Linked DNA regions of Homo sapiens: region 2 is linked to region 1. The links are contacts of gene promoters, found by promoter capture Hi-C in blood cells and fetal thymus (Javierre and others, 2016). All regions are on one chromosome and are shown on one strand. Each heading gives the region's core, a stretch centred on a gene start or on the middle of the fragment in contact. The rest is flanking DNA. Distances are from core to core; before and after follow the strand shown.

Region 1 (7,181 bases), core at 2,419-4,918:
TGTAGGCAAGGGAAATTTTGTTGGAAATAAGCCAGTACAACTGAATATGGACAACAATGACTATTAATTCTTGAAAAAAATTATGACACTTAAAAAATTTGTCTTTAGCCTTAGATTCCTTTTTTTGAGGTCTTCAAAAGCACAACAATTTTCTTGTGCTTATGAATATCAAGAAAGTTAGAGTGATGAATGTCTCATTCTTGGTATGAAGTATGAATACTATGAATAACCTATTGGTACAATGTATCACTGGTATCTAACAAGGACACATATGCAGACCCTGTGCTCATAGAATCCAGAAATTTTAGGGTAGAAAAGACCCTTTCCATTTATCCTGTCTCATTCCCCTTGATTTACAGATGAGAAATTGAAGCTGAGTCGTTAAGTGACATGCTCAAGGTTACACAGAAAACATGTGGCAGAGTTAGGACTTGAAAATGGGATTCTTGGCTGTTGGTTCAGAATCCCCCTCCATGCAGCATCACTCTGGACATTTGCAGCTTGTTTTCCAGGCCAGCCTTGGTGACAGGGTATTGACTCTGCTCCTGCAACTACCCAACAACAAAACTTCTGTCTTCTGATGCCATGGAGAGGAGTTTATAAACCGGATTAACTTCTTTGTGATTGAGTGAGTTAGTAAGGATTCTCTTTAGCAAGCTTTAGGTGAGGTGTATAGAGAGCTAACATTTATTAAAGACTTATTATAGGCACAGTAGGGTCTGTATAGTGTCATGTTTAGGAACATGAACTTGGGATCTAACTCCAACTTTGTGTCTTTGGCAAGTTTGTTAACCTCTCTTTGCCTTTGTTTTCTGTCTGTAAAATAGAGCTAATAAGACTACCTTCCTTAGAGAGTCAGTTTGAGTATTAAAGAGTTATTCTCTGCAAAGTATGTGGAATTGTGCCGATTACAGGGTTGGCTCTATTATTATTTCTATGTTAAGTGCATGAGATACATTATCTCTGTACCCTTTACAGAACCCCATGAGATAGGTACTCTACTAAAATCCCCATTTCACAATGAGAGAATTTAATCCAGAACCTGTACTCATAACCCTTACCCTCCGATACTAGATGCAACTGAAAATGGTTGAAAACTCAATGAAAAGGGAGAAAACATCTTTCTGAAATATCTGATTACAGAGGAATTTTTTTTTTCAAAATGGAAACACATCCAGCACTTTAGGAGGCCGAGGCGGGCAGATCCCGAGGTCAGGAGATCGAGACCATCCTGGCTAACATGGTGAAACCCCGTCTCTACTAAAAATACAAAAAAAAAAAAAAAATTAGCCGGGTGTAGTGGTGGTCGCCTGTAGTCCCAGCTACATGGGAGGCTGAGGCAGGAGAATGGTGTGAACCCGGGAGGTGGAGCTTGCAGTGAGCCGAGATCGTGCCACTGCACTCCAACCTGGGTGACAGAGCGAGACTCCATCTCAAAAAAAAAAAAAATGTAAACACATTTGAGCCCACAAAAGTTTATTTTAAACAAGGAAAAAGGAAACAAGTCCATAGCTGTGACTCTTGGAGTAACACCACGTAACTCTCAATAGCATTTGAGAATGTGAGGTTATACATCCTATGGATCTGGTTTCGGTGGCCAAATATTGCTCAAGCCCTCTTTTCTAATCTTCAATCTGCTACTTCACTAAGTCTGGGACTTTAAGCAAGTTTCTTAATGAAATCCCTGTTAGTTCCTATGTCTCAACTGTAAAATGACAGAAGGTACCTAAGGAGGCTAGTCTAAAGTTCAAATTATCCTAATTTATGCAAAACTGTTGGAACAGTGCCTAGCACATGGCAAGAGCTTAAAAAGGAACTATTATTTTATTATTAGATCCCAAGGTATTCTATCTTGTTTTAGGCAGTGGATGTGGCCATAGGAAAAGTTTATAAAAGGAATTGAACAGGGTCAATTTCAAGAGCAAAGAAATAGGAGATGGGTACTCAGAGTACAGTAATTAACCAGAACAAGAATTTTTTTGAGCTTTTAAAAAGCATACAATTAAAGAATTGTCCACGTTTCTGCATGTATATGATTTCATTACATTCTCCTTTGCTGTTGATCATTGCTTTTTTTTTGTCTCGAGAAATTTTATGAGGAAAACTCAATACTTTTCATTTATTTATCAACAGTTTCTCCTTTCATATCTGCTGTTTAGTTTCTGGACTAAGATCTGTAAATTTCACATAGAACCCAGATTATTCATGGCTAGGTCTATAGTTATTAGGACTCAGAATACATTTTTACTGGGTCAAGTTCTGGTTTTATAAAAGGAATTAAAGACAGAGCCAGCCAGTTCTGATTCTTTAATTATTCAATTGAAATGAAGACAATTCTGTAAATGATACATGAGAAGGGAAACTAATAAATAGACTCCTTTTATAGATTCCACCTATTGACTTAGTAGGATTGTTCTCTTGACAGTTGACAAAATATTTACCCCTAGTTGTCCTTTTTTTAAAAATAAGAATTAGAACAACTGCAATTATTTTTAAGAACAAGGAACACATAAAAATATTGGAGCTCTGATGAGATCAAAAGTATAAGACTAAAGCAATTAGAGAAAACCTCAGCAATTTGCTCTGTGATTACATTATTTCAAATAAAAATGGGAAAAATTTACTTCTTTATAGTTTCTTTCTACCTCATTTTCATGCTAACTTCACTTTTGACAGAGTGAAGATGATTATTATTTTCAAGAGTACTTTATAGCATAAAGCAAAACATGAAACCGAATCATTTTCACAAAATCACCCAGTACATCCACAGGTATACACTTATATCACCTTTCACAAAATGCTGATCTGGTGAAAATGAATGTTCTTTCCCTACCTATTTTAATTTTAATTGTTTTCTTGTCAGAAAGAAGTACCTTAATTAAAATGTGTTACAAAGCCAAGGGCTCCAGTATTACTTCTGTGTTCTATGTTGTCCCTGTGGTAGCCACATAATCATCAAGTGCCCAGTGGGGCATGGCCTCGTCCTTTTGGGCCCATGTTCATGGAATGGCATACAGTTGAACCTATTATTCACCTTTCTTAGCATTAGCTTTTTTTTTTTTTTTTTTTAAGATGGAGTTTCACTCTTGTCACCCAGGCTGGAGTGCAATGGAGCGATCTCGGCTCACTGCAACCTCCGCCTCCCGAGTTCACGTGATTCTCCTGCCTCAGCCCCCCGAGTAGCTGGGATTACAGGCACCTGCCACTACGCCCAGCTAATTTTTGTATTTTTAGTGGAGATGGGGTTTCACCATGTTAGGCAGGCTGGTCTCGAACTCCTGACCTCAGGTGATTCTCCTGCCTCGGCCTCCCAAAGAGCTGGGTTTACAGGTGTGAGCCACCGCACCCAGCGAGCATTAGCTTTTTTTTTCTTTTTGCAGTCCGTTTTATCTCTTGTACAGCAACCAACTTACTTTTTCATTCCTCTTCTGTTTTGTTTCTTTCTTGTTTCGTTCATGGTTTTATTCTCCCTCATTTTTCAACTGGCCTCAACATAGAGTCAAGAACTTGTCTTCATCCCTCCAATCTAGAGAACAGAACCCACACAGGTAGACCAGCCACAGTTTGTGCCCATTGATTTGGAGGAGAGATAGGCAAGAACGTATCAATGGACTTACTTTGTTCCTTTGGCACCTCTATGTTTCCTCTTTCTCTGCTCCAACCTGTGTGCCAGTATCAGATATTTACCTGGATTTTATAGGTAGATTTTATTTCCGTTCTCCAAACCAATTTGTCTTGTATCTTTATGTAGTTCCAGAGTCCTTTTATGGTTATTTCTCTTTCACCTCAAGAGATGTAAATGCAACTGTAAAGTTTGGAATACGCTGTGCTTTCACATCCTCCTCTAATTTTTACTGGGAAGCCTATTGTGACCCTCCCAAACACTTTAGTATTTATTTTCTCCAGCTTTCTAATGCTCAATCATTGCAATATCATACTGCATTTTTTTATTTTTATTTTTATTTATTTATTTTTTTTACTGGGATTTTATTTTTAAATTTCTAAACACTCAAATTATGTTTATAGTCTCTTTTTTTTTTTTATTGATCATTCTTGGGTGTTTCTCACAGAGGGGGATTTGGCAGGGTCATAGGACAATAGTGAAGGGAAGGTCAGCAGATAAACAAGTGAACAAAGGTCTCTGGCTTTCCTAGGCAGAGGACCCTGCGGCCTTCCGCAGTGTTTTTGTCCCTGGGTACTTGAGATTAGGGAGTGGTGATGACTCTTAACGAGCATGCTGCCTTCAAGCATCTGTTTAACAAAGCACATCTTGCACCGCCCTTAATCCATTGAACCCTGAGTGGACACAGCACATGTTTCAGAGAGCACAGGGTTGGGGGTAAGGTCATAGATCAACAGCATCCCAAGGCAGAAGAATTTTTCTTAGTACAGAACAAAATGAAATCTCCCATGTCTACTTCTTTCTACACAGACACAGCAACAATCTGATTTCTCTATCTTTTCCCCACCTTTCCCCCTTTTCTATTCCACAAAACCGCCATCGTCATCATGGCCCGTTCTCAATGAGCTGTTGGGTACACCTCCCAGACGGGGTGATGGCCAGGCAGAGGGGCTCCTCACTTCCCAGAAGGGGCGGCTGGGCGGAGGCGCCCCCCACCTCCCTCCCGGAGGGGGCGGCTGGCCGGGCGGGGGCTGACCCCCCCACCTCCCTCCCGGACGGGGCGGCTCGCTGGGCGGGGACTGGCCCCCCACCTTCCTCCTGGACGGGGTGGCTGCCAGGCGGAGACGCTCCTCACTTCTCAGACGGGGCGGCTGCTGGGCGGAGGGGCTCCTCACTTCTCAGACAGGGCGGCTGCTGGGCGGAGGGGCTCCTCACTTCTCAGACTGGGCGGCCGGGCAGAGACACTCCTCACCTCCCAGACGGGGTCGCCACTGGGCAGAGGCGCTCCTCACATCCTTGACGGGGTGGCAGGGCAGAGGCGCTCCCCACATCTCAGACGATGGGCGGCTGGGCAGAGACGCTCCTCACTTCTTGGACGGGATGGTGGCCGGGAAGAGGCGCTCCTCACTTCCCAGACTGGGCAGCCAGGCAGAGGGGCTCCTCAAATCCCAGACAATGGGCGGCCAGGCAGAGACGCTCCTCACTTCCCAGACGGGGTGGCGGCCGGGCAGAGGCTGTAATCTCGGCACTTTGGGAGGCCAAGGCAGGCGGCTGGGAGGTGGAGGTTGTAGCTAGCTGAGATCACGCCACTGCACTCCAGCCTGGGCAACATTGAGCACTGAGTGAACGAGACTCCGTATACAATCCCGGCACCTCGGGAGGCTGAGGCTGGTGGATCACTCGCGGTTAGGAGCCGGAGACCAAACCGGCCAACACAGCGAAACCCCATCTCCACCAAAAAAATACGAAAACCAGTCAGGCGTGGCGACTCGGCAGGCTGAGTCAGGAGAATCAGGCAGGGAGGTTGCAGTGAGCCGAGATGGTGGCAGTACAGTCCAGCTTCGGCTCGGCATCAGAGGGAAACCGTGGAAAGAGAGGGAGAGGGAGACCATGGGGAGGGGGAGAGGGAGGGAGAGGGAGAGGGAGAGGGAGAGGGAGAGGGACAGGGAGAGGGACAGGGAGAGGGAGAGGGAGAGCCATACTGCATTTTAATGCCTTTTAAATTAGGTGGACAAAATTGGAAAATGCAGATAATAAAAAAAGGAGAGAAAAAGCACTCAATCTCACCACGCAGACATAATTAATGATAGTATTTGCATTTTGATTTGTAAACTTTTGTGTGCGCATGTATGTATTTTACATAGTAAAATCAAGTTAGGATCATAATGTATATATACTTCATAACCTGCTTTTAAGCTTAATGTCCTATAAATATCTTTTCATGTCGATAAACATATTTATTGTAGTTCTTTTTTTTTTTTTTTTTTGAGATGGAGTCTTGCTCTGTCACCCAGGCTGGAGTGCAGTGGCGCGATCTCGGCTCACTGCAAGCTCTGCCTCCCGGGTTCACACCATTCTCCTGCCTCAGCCTCCGGAGTGGCTGGGACTACAGGCGCCCGCCACCATGCCCGGCTAATATTTTGTATTTTTAGTAGAGACGGGGTTTCACCATGTTAGCCAGGACGGTCTCGATCTCCTGACCTTGTGATATGCCCGCCTAGGCCCCCCAAAGTGCTGGATTACAGGTGTGAGCCACCGCACCTGGCCTATTTATTGTAATTCTTAATAGTGGCGTGCTGTTTTATTTTTTGGAAGTGTCCTGTCACATTCCAGTTATTTATTTTAGGTTGTATCTCAGGTACAAATGAGTACCTTGAGACCAGAGATCCTTGGGGCAGGGGCTGATATCTATCCCCACCTCCAACTCCATGTATGGCACAGTGTCTCACACATGTTAAGGCTCATTAAATATACATTAAAAGAGTTGGTGGCATGAGTGCAGATTCTTTTTTCTTTTTTTGTGTATTATTGAGAGTTTTCTTTCTCTTGTGGGTTTACATTTTTATATATTTTTCTAAAATAGAAAAAAGATGCTGAAGATTTATTAATGTTATGAGCTTAAGAAAATGACAATTTCAGGCAATAATATTGCTGAAAGGCTTGAAGGTATTTAAAGGAAAATGAAGTAAGCATTGTTTTTGAAAGCCCACAGAATCATGATTACTGTCTGGAAAGGTATAACATGATCAACCTTATTCATGTTATCCAGGCAGCAGGAAGAGAAAGTTGAAAATAAATAATGTCAGGCTGGGCACAGTGGCTCACGCCTGTAATCCCAGCACTTTGGGAGGCTGAGGTGGGTGGATCACTTGAGATCAGGAGTTTGAGAGCAGCCTGGCCAACATGGTGAAACCCCATCTCTACTAACATACAAAAATTAGCTGAGTGTGGTGGCACACGCCTGTAATCCCAGCTACTTGGGAGGCTGCAGCAGGAGAATCACTTGAACCTGGGAGGCGGAGGTTGGAGTGAGCCGAGATTGCGCCACTGCACTCCAGCCTGGGTGACACAGCGAGACTCCCTCTCAAAAAAATAAAATAAAATAAAAAATAAAAAAAGAAAAAAGAAATAGTGTCTTTTAAACCTAGAATCCCCTTCCTTCTCCTGTTGGCCTTTCAGACCCATCTCCATGCAGCAAATCTTGGTAAGACTTCTGCACTGTTCTCTCCTGTAATCATGTGGTTAGTGCCATTAACAGTGTGATTCTTCTATGTTGTGT
Region 2 (6,592 bases), core at 2,349-4,848, 320 kb after region 1:
TTTTCCCATGAGAGTTGTCTATAAACATTGTGATAGTGACGTCGAAGGTACTCTGTACATGGAATCTGACCTGACCATTTTCTCTTTTATCTTAGTTTATCATCTCTGGCTCTCTATCAATCGCCACAGAGAAAAGGTTAACCAAGCTTTTGGTGAGTAAGAGAGCTATAACCCACAACCCAATGGATCAAAATAAAACTTAGACAGAACTCTTTAAGGCTAGTCTTTCTACTTTGAAAAGTTGAAAACTCAGTTCCAGAGCAGTTGGTTGTTGTTAGAATTAGGAGCTGGGCCTGGATCCTCTGTATCCTTGTTCAGAGAACATTTCTCCAATTATTGTACCCTACATCAAAGTCTGCATTCAGGGGATTATAATATTCCCTCTGCCCATGCCGAAGAATGTATCACAGAGAAATTGTGCCTGTTTATGAGGTTCTTTCGGTGATAACTGGCCTTCAAATTCAGGTTTTCAGTGGCAAGGAAGCTGACAGTGTTATAAAGCGGTCTATTGGTTGGGGTCCATTCTTTAAGCCCAGGTGTTACAACCCTTGAAAAAAAAATGAGTCAAAGTGTTGTTCATGTGAGGTATCCAAAGTAGACACAGAGGCTACTACAGTATACTACATTACATTTAGGCCTGATGTCTCCTCAGGTTCCTTTAGACTTTCTCAGATTTTCCTTTTCCTTGAGGACTTCAATAGTTTTGGGTAGTGCTGGCTGACTGTATCCTTTCATCTATCTCACCAGAAGTATAATACTTTTATTTTGTTTGAGTATAAATTCTTGCACCCTAAAAAGTTGTCCTTAGTCATTTGTATTGGCTAACAAAAAAACAAAACAACAACAACAAAAAACAAAGCTTTACCCGTCTTTATCCCTTATTCCAGCAAAAACTAGAGTTGGAAGTGGCAGGGAGACAAAGCCTGGATTATAGGGAGAATCTTCTCTTGTCTTTAAAGTTTCATTAAGTCTTCGCTCAATCCATTATCTCTCAAGGGGTTGATGTTGGAGATTATGTGAGAGAATGTCATACCATGCAATTGCACCGAGACTCAATTTGGAAGCTCTGGCTACAAAAATCTCCCAAAGCCAGCAAGGAAGTGAGAAACGGCATCCAGAAAAATGCCAATTCTTTTTCTCATCGGTATTTAGAGATTATTATTTGGAACCCTCAGTTAGACTCGGAACTACTAACTAGATCTGTGCTGTTTAATTTAACTTTCTTTGAGGATGGAAATGAAATGTAACTTTCTATGATGATAGAAATGAAATGTAACTTTCTATGATGATGGAAATGCACTACAGCTGTACTGTACAATATGGCAGTCACATGTGGCTATCGATGATGTGAAATATAGTGCAACTGAATAAAAATTTCTCTTAATTTTACTTTAAATATAGATAGTCTATGTGGCTATTGGCAACCATACTGAGTAGCCTGGCACAAGGGTAGTGCTTTCAAACTTTTAGGAGGAAATATATGGGCCTGTTACTCCAGAGAACAATCCCACAGTGAACATGCAGGAAGCTCAAGGATGCAGGATGTGGTCTCGGGGTGGGCTCAGACTTACCAGAGACATCGAGGCTTTAGCGAGTTCTACTCTTGTCACACATTGCACCAGCCCTTTTTGAGATTGAAGAAGAGTGCCATCTCAAGACAAATCTAGCTTATTCTAAGAAATATAGACTCTAGGCATCAAGAATACTACTGGCTACTAGGAGGCCCAGGAGTGTACACTTCAGTCATTATGTTGGGAAATTGGGGTCCCAGAGTATCAACTGGTGAGTTCCTAAAAGAAGAAGTGCCCATGTGGGATTAAGTAACATTCTACTGTATGGCTGTGAGGTGTGCCCTGGAGCCTACCTACCTGTAACTATAGCTCTCAGAGTACTCTTAGCTCAATTCTCTTTTCTGTGTGAGTTGGAGTACAAAAGAAGTCACTTCTGAGGTTAGTTTATCTATTCCCTTCACTTCATAAATGTATAAATGAGAACCAGAGTGGGAAATAAAATCAAGGAACTGATTACCCAAGGGAATAAACCAAGGCAAGTCTAGTACTGTGACTTCAATATTCTGACCTCCAGTTCAGACCTTTTTCTTGTACTTCCCGCTGCCTCCCACACATTACACCATCCTTGGGCCTGCACCTAGACCTCTGCCCACAGCCACCCCATACTGCACTCAGTGTGGCCAATCATATGCCTGCCCATGTTCCAGGGCCTGCCTGAGACTCAGAACCACCCCCTCACTCATCTTTGAGAGGTGTGCTTTTGAGAGAAGCAATGGGCAGGCGAGAGTGAGCTATTAGGTTGGTGCAAACATAATTGTGGTTTTATGGCAAAAACCACAATTACTTTTGCACCATGCTAATACATGATCTATCTTTTCCATGTGGCTGATGCTTCCGCCAGGGGTTTTTGAGTTGAGCGAGAGAGAAACTGCATCTGGTACGTTGCCACCTTCACTTTGGGTCACGCTCTCTTGGTAATGTTGCAGGTAAAGCCTCATGAAAGCCCTGCTATCTGTCCTGGGGAAAGAATTTAGGAGAGTAACATTCTCTACCACACCACTGAGGTCCTGCTTAAGGTGAACCAGTTCGTATAGTCATTCATTCAGCCAAGAATTACCCTGGAGATTGAGAGATTTTTGCTGGACACTGGAGAGGCATACAGCAATAAATGATCAATCCCAGACCTCCTGAGGGGACAGATAAGGGAATAACTTACAATTTAATGGCAAAGATGCATAACAGATTCATGAGTCATTAGCAATGATCCTTACCCAACATTTCTCTTTCAGGTGCATAGCAGCCTGGTTGGAAGCATTCTGAGTGCTCTGTCTGCCCTGGTGGGTTTCATTATCCTGTCTGTCAAACAGGCCACCTTAAATCCTGCCTCACTGCAGTGTGAGTTGGACAAAAATAATATACCAACAAGAAGTTATGTTTCTTACTTTTATCATGATTCACTTTATACCACGGACTGCTATACAGCCAAAGCCAGTCTGGCTGTAAGTATTTTTAGATGGGATGTTCTAATCTTATGAGGTATTCAAAAGCCTTGATTTCTTGTTATTCCTTCTTTTGAAAATCTCTCTATTGGTTCTGGTTTGGGCATCTGGGGGAAAGCCAGGTTTATGTAAATCAAAGGGGACTACAGGGATGAGATTAAGGGGATTACATACTAATAGAGTGGAATTGAAAATGTTAAATAAGGTTGATGATGAAAAACTAAAACTTACTGTTTGTAGAGGTTCTTAATTATCAAACTAATCCAATTTTGGAGGCATAAATTATGAGTTTATCAAAATGAGAATCTTGGTACATGGAGTGGTGAATTAAGAATGGAAACAGAGCAGAAAGACCCAGGAGATCAGAATAGGCCAACAAGGAAACAGTATGTGTGCATGGTAAGGAGTTAATTTGGTTTGAGAAGACATCAGATTCAGTACTAAGAAAAAGAGGATAGGAAATATGGGATGAGAAGATAAGGGCTTCTTCTTCTAATGATCACAATAATGAATAATACTGATCAGGTGAGAATGCAACATTATTGTTGCTTTTTGTTATAGCTGAAAGAAGTGTGATATATTAAATCAGGAGATAAGAAATATAGGGAGATGGAGAGTGTAATTGAGAATGATTGCAGGAGAATTCTATCTCTTTGGAAGAAGAAAAATAATGAAGTTTGGCTAATAGAAATAATATGTCTGAAGTTGAAAGATTAAGGGGCATGTGCATGGTCAGCAACACATTGAGAGAAAAACAGGCAACATAAGAGTAAAGGGACGGCTGGGTCAGTGGCTCACCCCTATAATACAAGCATTTTGGGAGGCCCTGGTGCATGGATCACGAGGTCAGGTGTTCAAGATGAGCCTGGCCATGACGGTGAAACCCCATCTCTACTAAAAGTACAAAAACTAGCTGGGTGTGGTGGCGGGCAGCCGTAATCCCAGCTACTTGGGAGGCTGAGGCGGAGAATTACCTGAGCCTGGGAGGTGGCGGAGGTTGCAGTGAGCTGAGATCACGCCACTGCACTCCAGCCTGGGTGACAGAGCAAGACTCCGTCTCAAAAAAAAAAAAAAAGGAATAAAGAAATTGCAGAATATTTGTTGTCCTGCAATCATAAAAACAAGATAAGCCAAGAACTCAGCTGGAAGATGGACAGATAGAAAGGTCTGGTCAAAGTCATGTTTGTATAGCACTCATTATAAAGAGGGCCTTGCTCCCAAGGTAATGGTATAATGAGAAAAAGTACAAGTAAATGAGGCTGACAGCAATTGGCACAGATTAATACCTGGCACAGCCAATTCCACCTTGGGAAAAATTCTGAAGAGAAATTTCAGAGAAATTTGGTAGTGATAAAGTATAAATTCATGATGGGACGATTTTACATTGGAAATAAGAGAGATTCTGTCAAGTTTGCTTGCTGGAACAATTTCCAGTAATGGAAAAAGTTATATCTTCTCTTTAACTGTGTATAAATACCACAAACCAAAGTTTCATGTGATCAAATTATTTCCGTTTATTATCAGATGGCCAGTTCTGCACAAAGAATGTCTCAGGACAGAAATGATAGAATTCATTCTTGTGAGTTGGTGTTGGTGATTAGCAACTCTGACAGTTTACTACCTTCACTGTTTTTTTCTAAGCCTTACAGTTACACCCCCAAAAAAAAGAAAAAAAAGAAAAAACAACAAAGAAACAACAACAAAAATCAAGAAGAAATACAAAGGGGTTCAGATACATAGACAGGGATGTCAATACTAAATTTTACAAAGGACTTGCACAGTCAAAACCTCCTTGATCCTTACAAATTTCTGAGAAAGAAATGTTAGTATGCATGTTTGATACATGAGGAAACAGGAGCTAGAGAAAGAGAGAGACTTGTCCAGGCTTACACAGCTACTAAGCAGTAAAGGTGAGACTGGAACGGAGCTGCTGATTCTCAGTCCTGGGAGTTATTACGCCACTCTGCTTTCTTACCGAGTGAACAATGTCATCAGAACTATGGATGTCTCAAAGAAGTAAGAAATAAGTGTATGAAGTAGATTAGTTGATTTAATTACTATTCATCTCCCTTTCTCCTCTCAAGGAAATGAGTTAAGGGGTTGAATTAAGACAATTGTGAGGTGTGGGAGGAGCAGTTTTATCTTCCTGATGGTGTCCTTTCTTCATTCTCTAATGGTTGAGGTGGTCTTCATCTCTATGGTCACCTCTCAACTAGGCATGAAGGCTTCAGCTGACCTAAGCAACATCAATCTTTTATTTCTTGACTTTCAGGGAACTCTCTCTCTGATGCTGATTTGCACTCTGCTGGAATTCTGCCTAGCTGTGCTCACTGCTGTGCTGCGGTGGAAACAGGCTTACTCTGACTTCCCTGGGGTGAGTGTGCTGGCCGGCTTCACTTAACCTTGCCTAGTGTATCTTATCCCTGCACTGTGTTGAGTATGTCACCAAGAGTGGTAGAAGGAACAATCAGTCAGTCATGAGATACACATGGGAGGGCATTTGCATTGTGATGGAAGACAGAGAAGAAAAGCAGATGGCAATTGAGTAGCTGATAAGCTGAAAATTCACTGGATATGAAAATAGTTAATCATGAGAAATCAACTGATTCAATCTTCCTATTTTGTCAGCGAAGGGAATGAGACTCTGGGAAGTTAAATGACTGGCCTGGCATTATGCTATGAGTTTGTGCCTTTGCTGAGGACACTAGAACCTGGCTTGCCTCCCTTATAAGCAGAAACAATTTCTGCCACAACCACTAGTCTCTTTAATAGTATTGACTTGGTAAAGGGCATTTACACACGTAACTGGATCCAGTGAATGTCTTATGCTCTGCATTTGCCCCTGGTGATCTTAAAATTCGTTTGCCTTTTTAAAGCTATATTAAAAATGTATTGTTGAATCAAACCCCTATGGACTTATGGCTTTATTTAACTGAATTAAAAAGCCTTGATTTATCCAAAATTGTATTATAGAGTGTAGAATGAATACTAGGGTGATAAATTGCAATTATTTGAAGAACCTGGTGATATGCTCTACTTATCTTGGATTAGCTAAGAATTCTATGTATACAGTTGGAAAAATGGCATATATACATCTATCTTGAACCTGATTGAAGTCTGAAGACCTAACATATTTTGTTTCTTCTAGAGTGTACTTTTCCTGCCTCACAGTTACATTGGTAATTCTGGCATGTCCTCAAAAATGACTCATGACTGTGGATATGAAGAACTATTGACTTCTTAAGAAAAAAGGGAGAAATATTAATCAGAAAGTTGATTCTTATGATAATATGGAAAAGTTAACCATTATAGAAAAGCAAAGCTTGAGTTTCCTAAATGTAAGCTTTTAAAGTAATGAACATTAAAAAAAACCATTATTTCACTGTCATTTAAGATATGTGTTCATTGGGGATCTCTTGATTTGCCTGACATTGACTTCAGCAAAAGCACGGGGCTGTAAATTACCATTTACTAGATTAGCCAAATAGTCTGAATTTCCAGAAAACAAGGCAGAATGATCATTCCCAGAAACATTTCCCAGAAAATGTTTCCCAGAAAACTAGACAGAATGATCATTCAATG

The links. The method cuts DNA at HindIII sites, captures the fragments that hold promoters and counts their contacts. A CHiCAGO score of 5 or more calls a contact.
Region 2: a contact is called between a fragment that was not itself captured here and the fragment with the promoter of MS4A12 in region 1, in 1 of 17 cell types (M0 macrophages). The highest score is 5.8, in M0 macrophages.

Annotation. Positions count from the first base shown.
Region 1 is chr11:60,489,265-60,496,445 of GRCh38, reverse strand. It overlaps MS4A12 (membrane spanning 4-domains A12), which reads right to left and starts at 3,668. Exons shown (of 7, transcript NM_017716.3): 1 at 3,618-3,668. RefSeq lists enhancers at 3,945-4,682, 4,683-5,422. The HindIII fragment of the contact is 5,161 bases long and covers 660-5,820 here.
Region 2 is chr11:60,171,820-60,178,411 of GRCh38, reverse strand. It overlaps MS4A6A (membrane spanning 4-domains A6A), which reads left to right. Exons shown (of 6, transcript NM_022349.4): 4 at 96-152; 5 at 2,801-3,010; 6 at 5,283-5,915. The coding sequence ends at 5,411. Among named protein-coding and RNA genes, the nearest start is that of MS4A6A, 8.0 kb to the left of the region's middle. The HindIII fragment of the contact is 5,473 bases long and covers 862-6,334 here.